Regions from separate parts of the Homo sapiens genome. Here region 1 is linked to region 2. The links are contacts of gene promoters, found by promoter capture Hi-C in human tissues and cell types (Jung and others, 2019). All regions are on one chromosome and are shown on one strand. The core of a region is centred on a gene start or on the middle of the fragment in contact, and the rest is flanking DNA. Distances in the headings are between cores, read along the strand shown. Region 1 overlaps SMC1B (structural maintenance of chromosomes 1B). Region 2 holds the start of FBLN1 (fibulin 1).

Region 1 (4,519 bases), core at 641-3,140, 110 kb after region 2:
AAGTTAGAGATTAATTCATCACTGAACATTTTAAAGCACCTTAAGTAATCAGTTTCCTTCTTGTCAATTAAGTGATCATGTCTCCTCAAAGCCACATGTATCTTTAAGTGTTTATGAGAGGAAAAAATGATTACCTTATGAATAATAAGATAAACACTTGAGCCCAGGAGGCCAAAGCTGCAGTGAGCCGTGATTGTGCCACTGTACTCCAGCCTGGGCAAAATAAAAATAAATAAATAAATAAGTTTCAAATATAAATAAATAAATAAATAATAAACAGTTTTTTTAAAGGAAGCTTTCATGCTCACATTATTTTACCGGGGGAAGGTGGTCGATTATGATTTAATTTATATAAAGCAAGCTTTTGGGAAGATTAATTATCTTCTAGTACAGGATTTCATACAAAGAAATTTGCTCTCATGCTTCTTAAGGTGAATTAGCAATTTTTCAATACTGTTTATGCAGCTGGATCGTTATAAAGAACTTAAGGAACAAGTAAGAAAGAAAGTAGCTACAATGACTCAACAACTGGAAAAACTGCAGTGGGAACAGAAGACAGATGAAGAAAGACTGGCATTTGAAAAGAGGAGGCATGGAGAAGTTCAGGTGTCTTGGGTTGTACAGTAATGATTTAGAATCATTCTTAATGAAATTTTATTTCCTTTTTGTACCTGTCTCCAGAATGAATCTCCTTAACCTTACACTATACTGTCTCATTTCATTTATTTCATGATTTGGCAGATGAAGATACAAATATAATAGCCATAATCTGTGATAGTTCTGTGAGTAGAAGAGGCATTTTGTGCAAGGAGAAAAACAAAGGTGGTAACATAGCAGGAATTACTTTTAAAACATTTGTATAATTGTGTAATTGATATGTTATAAAATTATACACTGATTTATGAAAATACACATTGGACATTTTTGCCTTTGTACATGCTAGTTTCTTTTTGGAATAACCTATTCATCTTTACATGTTAAAATCTAGAGTTACCAACACCGCAAAGCCTTCCCTGGCCCTCCTTTTCTTTATATCCCAGCTCCTAAAAAAGCCAAAAATAATTTCTTCCTCATATAACTACCTATTATTATTTGATACGGAGTTTCGGTCTTGTTGCCCAGACTAGAGTGCAATGACGCGATCTCGGTTCACTACAACCTCCGCCTCCCAGGTTCAGGCAATTCTCCTGTCTCAGCCTCCTGAGTAGTTGGGATTACAGGCATGCGCCACCATGCTTGGCTAATTTTGTATTTTTAGTAGAGACAGGGTTTCTCCATGTTGGTCAGGCTGGTCTTGAACTCCTGACCTCAGGTGATCCATCCTCCTCAGCCTTGCAAAGTGCTGGGATTACAGGCCTGAGCCACCGTGCCCAGTCAATTTTTTATCTATATCTAAGGGCTTTTGTCAGATCGCATAAAAATTAAAATTAATTGGTACCTCTCTACTGGACTGGAAGCTTATTAAAGGCAGGATTCTAATTGTGTCCATTGTAAACCTTGCACTTAGTAGATGTCAATAAGTGTTGGTTGAATTGCTGTTGTCTTTTGAATACAAAAAAACAAGAAGAACACATGTAGTTGCAGACAGATGGAGAAGACTTGTGGTAGTCTCCAGTTGGATTTAATGATAAAGTGAATAGAACAAAACTTTCCCGAAATCCTCATCCACAAGGCTATTAGTTGCCCTACAGGTGCCTATATTATTATAACACAAAACCACTCTACTATAATTACTTATTTAATTATCTGTCTCTCCTACCAGACATTAGTTCTTTGAGGGCAGGGACTCTTTCCTGCTTATTTCTGTACCTCTAGTTCCTATCACATGGTAGCCAGTGAATATATTTAGATTGTTGCAAAAGTAATTGCAGTACTTTTGTACCAACCTAATATATTTGTTCAGTACATTAGTTAAGGGGTAAGAACTATATAGATATTTGAAAATAATCTCCTTGAAGTTTGAAGTTACAGAGAGAAATCGCTAGAGATCAAATATCTAGCAAATGGTAAAGATTCAGGAGTTGAACCCTGATCTGTAATTTGCTCTGATAAGTGTTTTCATATAATTATATTTGATATCTTTCAATTTTATAACAGCTTATAATATTATAGTAAGTTCTAGGCATGTAATTTTGTTGGTTTGGAATTGCCGTAATTGATTTTAGATTTTATTTCCTCTTTTAGGGAAATCTAAAACAAATAAAAGAACAAATAGAAGATCATAAAAAACGAATAGAGAAGTTAGAGGAGTATACAAAGACATGCATGTAGGTAGAGTAAAAAAAATTTCTTGCAGCAATTTTCTTTTATTTTTTGAGAGAGGGTCTCACTCCCATCGCCCAGGCCAGAGTGCAGTGGCGCAGTCATGGCTTACGGTAGCCTCAACTTCCGGGGCTCACATGACGCTCCTACCTCAGCCTGTAGCTGAGACTACAGGCACATGCCACCACACCCAGCTAATTTTTTCTATTTCTGGTAAAGATGGGGTTTCACCATGTTGCCCAGGCTGATCTTGAACTCCTGGACCAAGCAATCCACCCTCCTCGGACTCCCAAAGTGCTGGGATTACAGGTGTGAGCCATCGCACCCCTTGCAGCTTTCTTATTTATGTATTTCTTCCTTTTTTTTTGAGACAGGGTCTCACTCTCACCCAGACTGGAGTGCAGTTGCGTGATCATGGCTTACTGCAGCCTGCACCCACTGGGCTCAAGTGATCCACCTACCTCAGCCCCCTGAATAGCTGGTACTACAGGTGTGTGCCACCACACCTGGCTAATTTTTTTTTTTTGTATTTTGTAGAGACAGGTTTTTGCCATGTTGCCAGGCTGGTCTCAAATTCCTAGACTCAAGCCAGCCACCCACTCAACCTCTCAAAGTACTGGGATTACAGGAGTGAGCCACCTGGCCCAGCCACATTTTTCAAATCAACAAAGAATGAGCAAAATCTTTTTTGCCCATGTTTGGTGTCAGGTTTATTGCATTTTTTACCCTTTAAAAATTGATAGAGCACTGCTCTATTCCCCTGCAATGCCAGACAGGAGTATGTTGTACCTGGTAATTCCTAAATTTTGGTTTATCATTTTGCTGTATAATTTGTTGTTATTTTGTAGGGATTGCTTGAAAGAGAAAAAACAGCAAGAGGAAACCCTAGTGGATGAAATTGAAAAAACAAAATCAAGAATGTCTGAAGTTAATGAAGAATTGAATCTTATTAGAAGTGAATTGCAGAATGCTGGGATTGATACCCATGAGGGAAAACGTCAGCAAAAGAGAGCAGAGGTTCTGGAACACCTTAAAAGACTGTACCCAGATTCTGTGGTAATGAGAATGAATAGTTAATTTAAACAAAAAAAACTAAGCTTTCCTGTTTGCTTTCAACAGTATCTTCTCATTTGGGATTAGAAATATTACCATTATTACAAAGCAATATTATTTCAGACATCTTTAAGTTTTGTGTTTGACTCTTTATATTTAAAATGTGACAGTAACTAATTAGGGTAAAACTTCCAGTAGTAGCTGTAGATAACGTAATTATTGGGGAGAAGCTTGACATGAACATAGTACCCAGAAAGTTCAAATTGTGGCCAGTATCCCCAAAAGGACCTGGATGCTGTGAAGTACTCTGAGCCACCCAGACACATAGCCTCAAACCTCATGTTTTTCATGGTTTTATTTGTTTTTGAAATATTTTTTCAGCAGACATCATTGGCATATTTTTATTCTGTAAGTATGACTGTGCATCTGGTATTGCTAGTGTATTTCATTAGCCAAAATACAGTATCACTTGTTGCTTGGGGTGCCAGCATCACAAGATTATTTCCTTTTGTATCGGGGTGGCATCTGATCCTCTTGTCCCTAACATCAGTGTATACTGTGCAGTCCTTATTTTATGATATGGCCTGTTTTCAGCATTTGAGACTGGTAACCACTGCTCTGTTTTGAAACACCTACCGGCCAGGGCAGTGTCTCACGTCTATAATCCTAGCACTCTAGGGGGCTGAGGCTGGTGGATCACCTGAGGTCAGGAGTTTGAGACCAGCCTGGCCAACATGGTGAAACCCTGTCTCTACTAAAAATGCAAAAAGTAGCCGCACATTGTGGCAGGCGCCTATAATACCAGCTCCTCAGGAGGGTGAGGTAGGAGAATCGCTTGAACCCGGGAGGCAGAGTTTGCAGTGAGCTGAGATCACACCATTGCACTCCAGCCTAGGCCACAGAGTGAGACTCTGTCTCCAAAAAAAAGGAAACATCTACCATTGGCCTCCATATCCACACTTTCATGGTTTTCCTCCTATGTCTCTGGCCACCCATCTTCATCTCCTTTATAGCATCTGTTTTGACTTTCTGACTCCTAAATGTTGGTTTCGACTTCTGGATAATGATGGAGGAGTAAATCTAGGTCACAAAATCTAGATCCCCCAATTCCTATCCAAGTGACAAAAACTAGTGAAACACACACACACACACACAACTAGTTAAAAAAAAAATCGACCTGATGCCATAAACTTTAGAAAATGGT
Region 2 (4,502 bases), core at 329-2,828:
CCCGCGCTCCCCTTACATCAAGCTCCATCTCTTCTAAAGAGCCTCCAGGGAGCCCCCAGGGGCTGCGAAGGCTCCTGGTGCCAACACTGAGCTCTGCGCCTCCCCACACCATCTCCAACCCCACGAGGTGCCCAGGCCGTGCCCAGCACCGCCTGAACAATCAGAGCTCCACAGGGCTCTGCTGCAGCCAGCCAGTCAAGAAAGCTCTGTAGAGCTCAGCTCCCAGCCTCCCCTCCCCCTCCAGCCCCCTTCAGCCCCCTTCCTGGAATCCCCCAGTGAGCATTAGTTGGGACAAGCGACCTTTTGACTAACAAAGGCGGTCACCAGAGGTTAAAAGGAACTCAACTAAACCAGGGATTAAGACTCGGATTCTGAGGGTGGTCTAGGGCACTCCCCTGGACCTGGGCCACTGGAGAAACAAAGACGCCAGGAGTGCCGGGCCTGGCTAGTGGCTCTGAGAAGCCACGGGTCAGCAGAGAGGTCACAGGTCATAGCTCTGCCGCCCAGCAGCTGCTCTGATCAGAGGACCTCGTGGCAGTCCCCCCAGGGACCAGGCCTTGAGGGTTAGAGGGGAGAAAAGCGCGGGCTGGGTGGGCACTGTCCCGGAGCTGTCAGTCCCAGAGTTGGGGCCTAAGGTCTGGGCCATCGATCAGATCTGCTCTTGGAAAACTCCATCCCCCTTGCCGTTGGTGGAAGTGACCAGTCCCCAGTCCCCGCTGAGCACCGAGCCCGGCAGAACCACTGCCTTGGGCCCTCTGTCCCGGGAGGGAGGCAGGGAGGAGGTGGCCAGGTCCGCATCCCCTCCATCCTCCCAGCTACGCCCCAAAAACCTCCAGGCTGCTCCCTGGCTTTCTCATTTCTTCCTCTCCAGCCCCTATCCCAGGACCGCTAGTGTCTCCTGGGGAAAAGACTGCTTCCCACCCTCCAGGCTCAAGTTTCACATCCGCAAGCTGGGTACAACAGCTCCTACCTGGGGGTGGAGGCGGGAAGCGGTGAGGAAAGATAGCCGAGGGCGCTTCCAGCGTCAAGTGCAAGGCGCCCTGGGCTCGGTAACCCCCAGCCAGCGTCCCCCAGCCCAGCTAGCGCCCCTGAACCCCCAGGGCCCGGGATGCGGCCCCCGGAGCCGGCTGGATTTGCTAGGACTGGGGTAGGACGGTGTGTTTGAGGGGTGGGGGAATCCGGTTTTGAAACAAGTCCCCAGGCCGGGGAGGAGATGAGGACCGGAGCTGGCCGTGGGGGAGGGGGGCGTCGCCGAGGCCTCGGCGCTGACAGTCCGGGGGCGCCGCGCAGGGCAACGCACGGACTCCGAGTCCCCGTGGTTCCGAAACTCGCAGGGAGCGCGAGGCCGAGGGGGTCGGGACCCTAAGCTGGGGCGGCGGACCCGGGACGCCCCTACCTCCGGCCGCCAGCAGCGCAAGGCCGCCGAGCAGCAGCAGCGGAAGCGGGACCCGGCGCGACGGCGCGGCGCGCTCCATGGGCGGCGGGCGACGGGCGGTGGGCGGCGGCGGACAAAGGCGCGGGCGCGGTCCTGGGGCAGCGGCGCGGGCTCCACGCTCCGGCCGAGCCTCGGCAGCCAACGCTGGGCCAGGGCCGCGCCGTTCAATTATCCCGCCCGGGAGGAGGGCGCGGCGGAGGCGGGGCCGCGGGTCTCCTGGTCCTCCCTCCCCGGCGCCCCCTGCCGGGACCCTCCCTCCCCGGACCCCGGCTGCGAGGGGCGCGCGCCCACGGCTGGGGGCGAGGGCCTGGATCCCAGACTTCCCCGGAGGGGGCACAGAGGGGGCGCCTTCGGGCCGGATGCCCCCAGTCCTATCCCCCAACACTCCGTGAAACCCGATCCCCTCCTCCCCCCACCCCCTCTCGAGGGGAGGGCTCGGGATCAAAGGTTATCCCCGCCCGACTCCGCGCGGAGGAGCGGGGACCCGGGCCTGCAGTCGGAGGCCCGGCTGCTGGGGGGCACTGGGGCAGGCCTTACCGCCAACCCCGCACCCTCGGCCGGGAGGCTGCAGGTCGGTGGCTAACCCCAGGCGTGTCCCGGGATGGGACCCGACTCTGCCCTCAGAGACAGGGACAGTCGGGCCAGGCCAACAAACAACCAAAATCCCAACGTGTGCTGGGCTCACCCGGGACACCAGGGCCGGAGGGAGAGACCCGGGAAGTCACCGAGGCTGCAGGGGAGGCAGCTTTGGCGCTGGGCCTGCGGGAGCCTCTTGTATAGGAATTCATAGCTACCGGGGTTACTGAGGATGAGTTAGGCTTTGGAACCACAAGTAGATTTATTTTCCAAAGAAGAAGAATAAAATGGTGCAGGTGAAGATGCGGAGGAACTGGATGAGACGCATAGGAACGCCACTGGGCAGCTCAAAGCGGTGTTCCTGTGAGTTCACCATGGACCCCTTGAGCCACCGACGCCCCGCCCAGCCTTACACTCAGCAGAAACGCATACAACATGTGCTCCAAAAGACAGAAAGACATGTAGCCGCACATTCATAATTCCTCCAATTGGGAAGCCTAGCGTCATCAAGGCAGATGAATATCGTGGAGTATTCGGGCTTAGGAGCACGACAAACGGAACAGGAGTGAATGATCCGCAACTCACATAACGGGTAAATCTCACAGACGTAAGTCAGAGTAATAGAGTCAGCCACAAAGGAACACTCGCTGCATGATTCCATTTACATAAAAGGCAAGAACAGGCCGGTGGCGGTGGCTCACACCTGTAATCCCAGCACTTTGGGAGGATGAAGTGGGCGGATTGCCTGAGGTCAGGAGTTCGAAACCAGCCTGGCCAACATGGTGAAACCCTGTCTCTACTAAAAATAAAAATAAAAATAAATTAGCCAGGCATGGTGGTGCACACCTGTAGTCCCAGCTACTCGGGAGGCTGAGGCAGGAGAATCGCCTGAACCCGGGAGACGGAGGTTGCAGTGAGCCGAGATCTCACCACTGCACTCCAGCCTGGGCGGCGGAGTGAGACTCCGTCTCAAAAAAAAAAAAAAAAAAAAAAAAAGGCAAGAACAGTTCAGAGGTCAGGAGAGTGGTGATCCTGGAGTGGGAGCGTGCTGGGCTTTCGGGGGCTGGTTAGGTTCAGCTTTCTTACTCTGGGTATTGGTTACAAGGTTGGGCTCAGTTTGTGAGAATTTATTGAGCTGTTCATTTATGGTACGTGCCCTTTTCTGAATACATGTTGTTTCTTTCTGTTTTTTTGAGATGGTGTTTTGCTTTTGTTGCCCAGGCTGGAGTGCAGTGGCGCAATCTCAGCCCACTGCAACCTCCACCTCCCGGGTTCAAGCGATTCTCCTGCCTCAGCCTCCTGAGTAGCTGGGACTACAGGCATGCACCACCACGCCTGGCAAATTTTGTATTTTTAGTAGAGACGGGGTTTCTCCGTGTTGGTCAGGCTGGTCTTGAACTCCCGACATCAGGTGATCCACCCGCCTTGTCCTCCCAAAGTGCTGAGATTACAGGCGTGAGTCACCGTGCCCGGTCACATGTTAAATTTTAAAATGAAAAACAAAAGGACAAGAACTCATCTCCCCACAGGGTGTCTTATAAGTTTGAAGTTTGCAGAGAGCCCAGGAAAGCTTACCAAGGGGACCAGCATGCTCACGCCTCTGAGGTTAAGGAGGCCCCTCAGGAAGAGGTGACATGCGACTGGCCAGTGAAAGGTGAGCAGAGGTGGGAAGGGTTTCCTTGGTGGTGCCAGCTTTCCTGATGTCTCTGCAAAAGTTTGGAGGCACCAGAGATCCTGGTCCGTTTTGACTTTGGATGGGGTGGGGTGCGGAAACAGCACATCAGCAGATGGCCCGAGGGAGGCATTTCTGAGTTGGAACAGGTTGGGAACTCATTACTACTTTGGTATTAACTTAATTCGTTTAAGCCATCGGAGAATGGGGTGCCCTGGAAGGAGTCTAGATGACTAAGGGAAGGTGGTGGAGGGCGAAGGGGGAACCAGGGGACCTGGGGGATTCAGAAAGAAGACGTAGAAACAGGCAGAGGGGTAGAAGGAAACCAGGAGAAGGCAATATCCAAGAAGGAATCAAAAAGTGATTCTGGGCAGGGCGTGGTGGCTCATGCCTGTAATCCCAACACTATGGGAGGCCGAGGTGGGTGGATCACTTGAGGTCAGGGGTTCGAGACCAACCTGGCCAATATGATGAAACCCCATCTCCACTAAAAATACAAAAATTAGCTGGGCATCGTGGTGCATGCCTGTAGTCCCAGCTACTTGGGAGACTGAGGCAGGAGAGTTGCTTGAACCCTGAAGGCGGAGGTTGCAGTGAGCCAAGATTGTACCACTGCACTCCAGCCTGGGTGATAGCAAAAAAAAAGTGATTCTGGCTGGGACTGCCCAGTGTGGCCCAGTGCTCAGTGAAGCCAGGACTGAGAAGTCCCAATGGGGATGGAGCAGGTGGCCGCTGGCGATGTGACCGGGGCCCTTTCTGGGGATGGGGAGGGAGTGGCTGTGTTGTGGGTGGCTGAGAAGGGGGTGGGGATGAGGAAAC

What was found. The method cuts DNA at HindIII sites, captures the fragments that hold promoters and counts their contacts. A contact is called where the count stands out against the background at its distance.
Region 1: a contact is called between a fragment that was not itself captured here and the fragment with the promoter of FBLN1 in region 2, in 4 of the 25 tissues and cell types used here (IMR-90 fibroblasts, dorsolateral prefrontal cortex, stomach and 1 more).

What each region holds. Positions count from the first base shown.
Region 1 is chr22:45,392,433-45,396,951 of GRCh38, reverse strand. SMC1B (structural maintenance of chromosomes 1B) reads left to right here. Exons shown (of 25, transcript NM_148674.5): 7 at 466-606; 8 at 2,185-2,267; 9 at 3,111-3,318. Among named protein-coding and RNA genes, the nearest start is that of SMC1B, 19 kb to the left of the region's middle. The HindIII fragment of the contact is 3,124 bases long and covers 329-3,452 here.
Region 2 is chr22:45,499,959-45,504,460 of GRCh38, reverse strand. FBLN1 (fibulin 1) reads right to left here and starts at 1,578. Exons shown (of 17, transcript NM_006486.3): 1 at 1,397-1,578. The coding sequence starts at 1,475. LOC105373066 (a long non-coding RNA gene) reads left to right here and starts at 3,474. Exons shown (of 3, transcript XR_938305.2): 1 at 3,474-3,665. RefSeq lists enhancers at 1-350, 351-964. The HindIII fragment of the contact is 10,534 bases long and covers 1-4,129 here.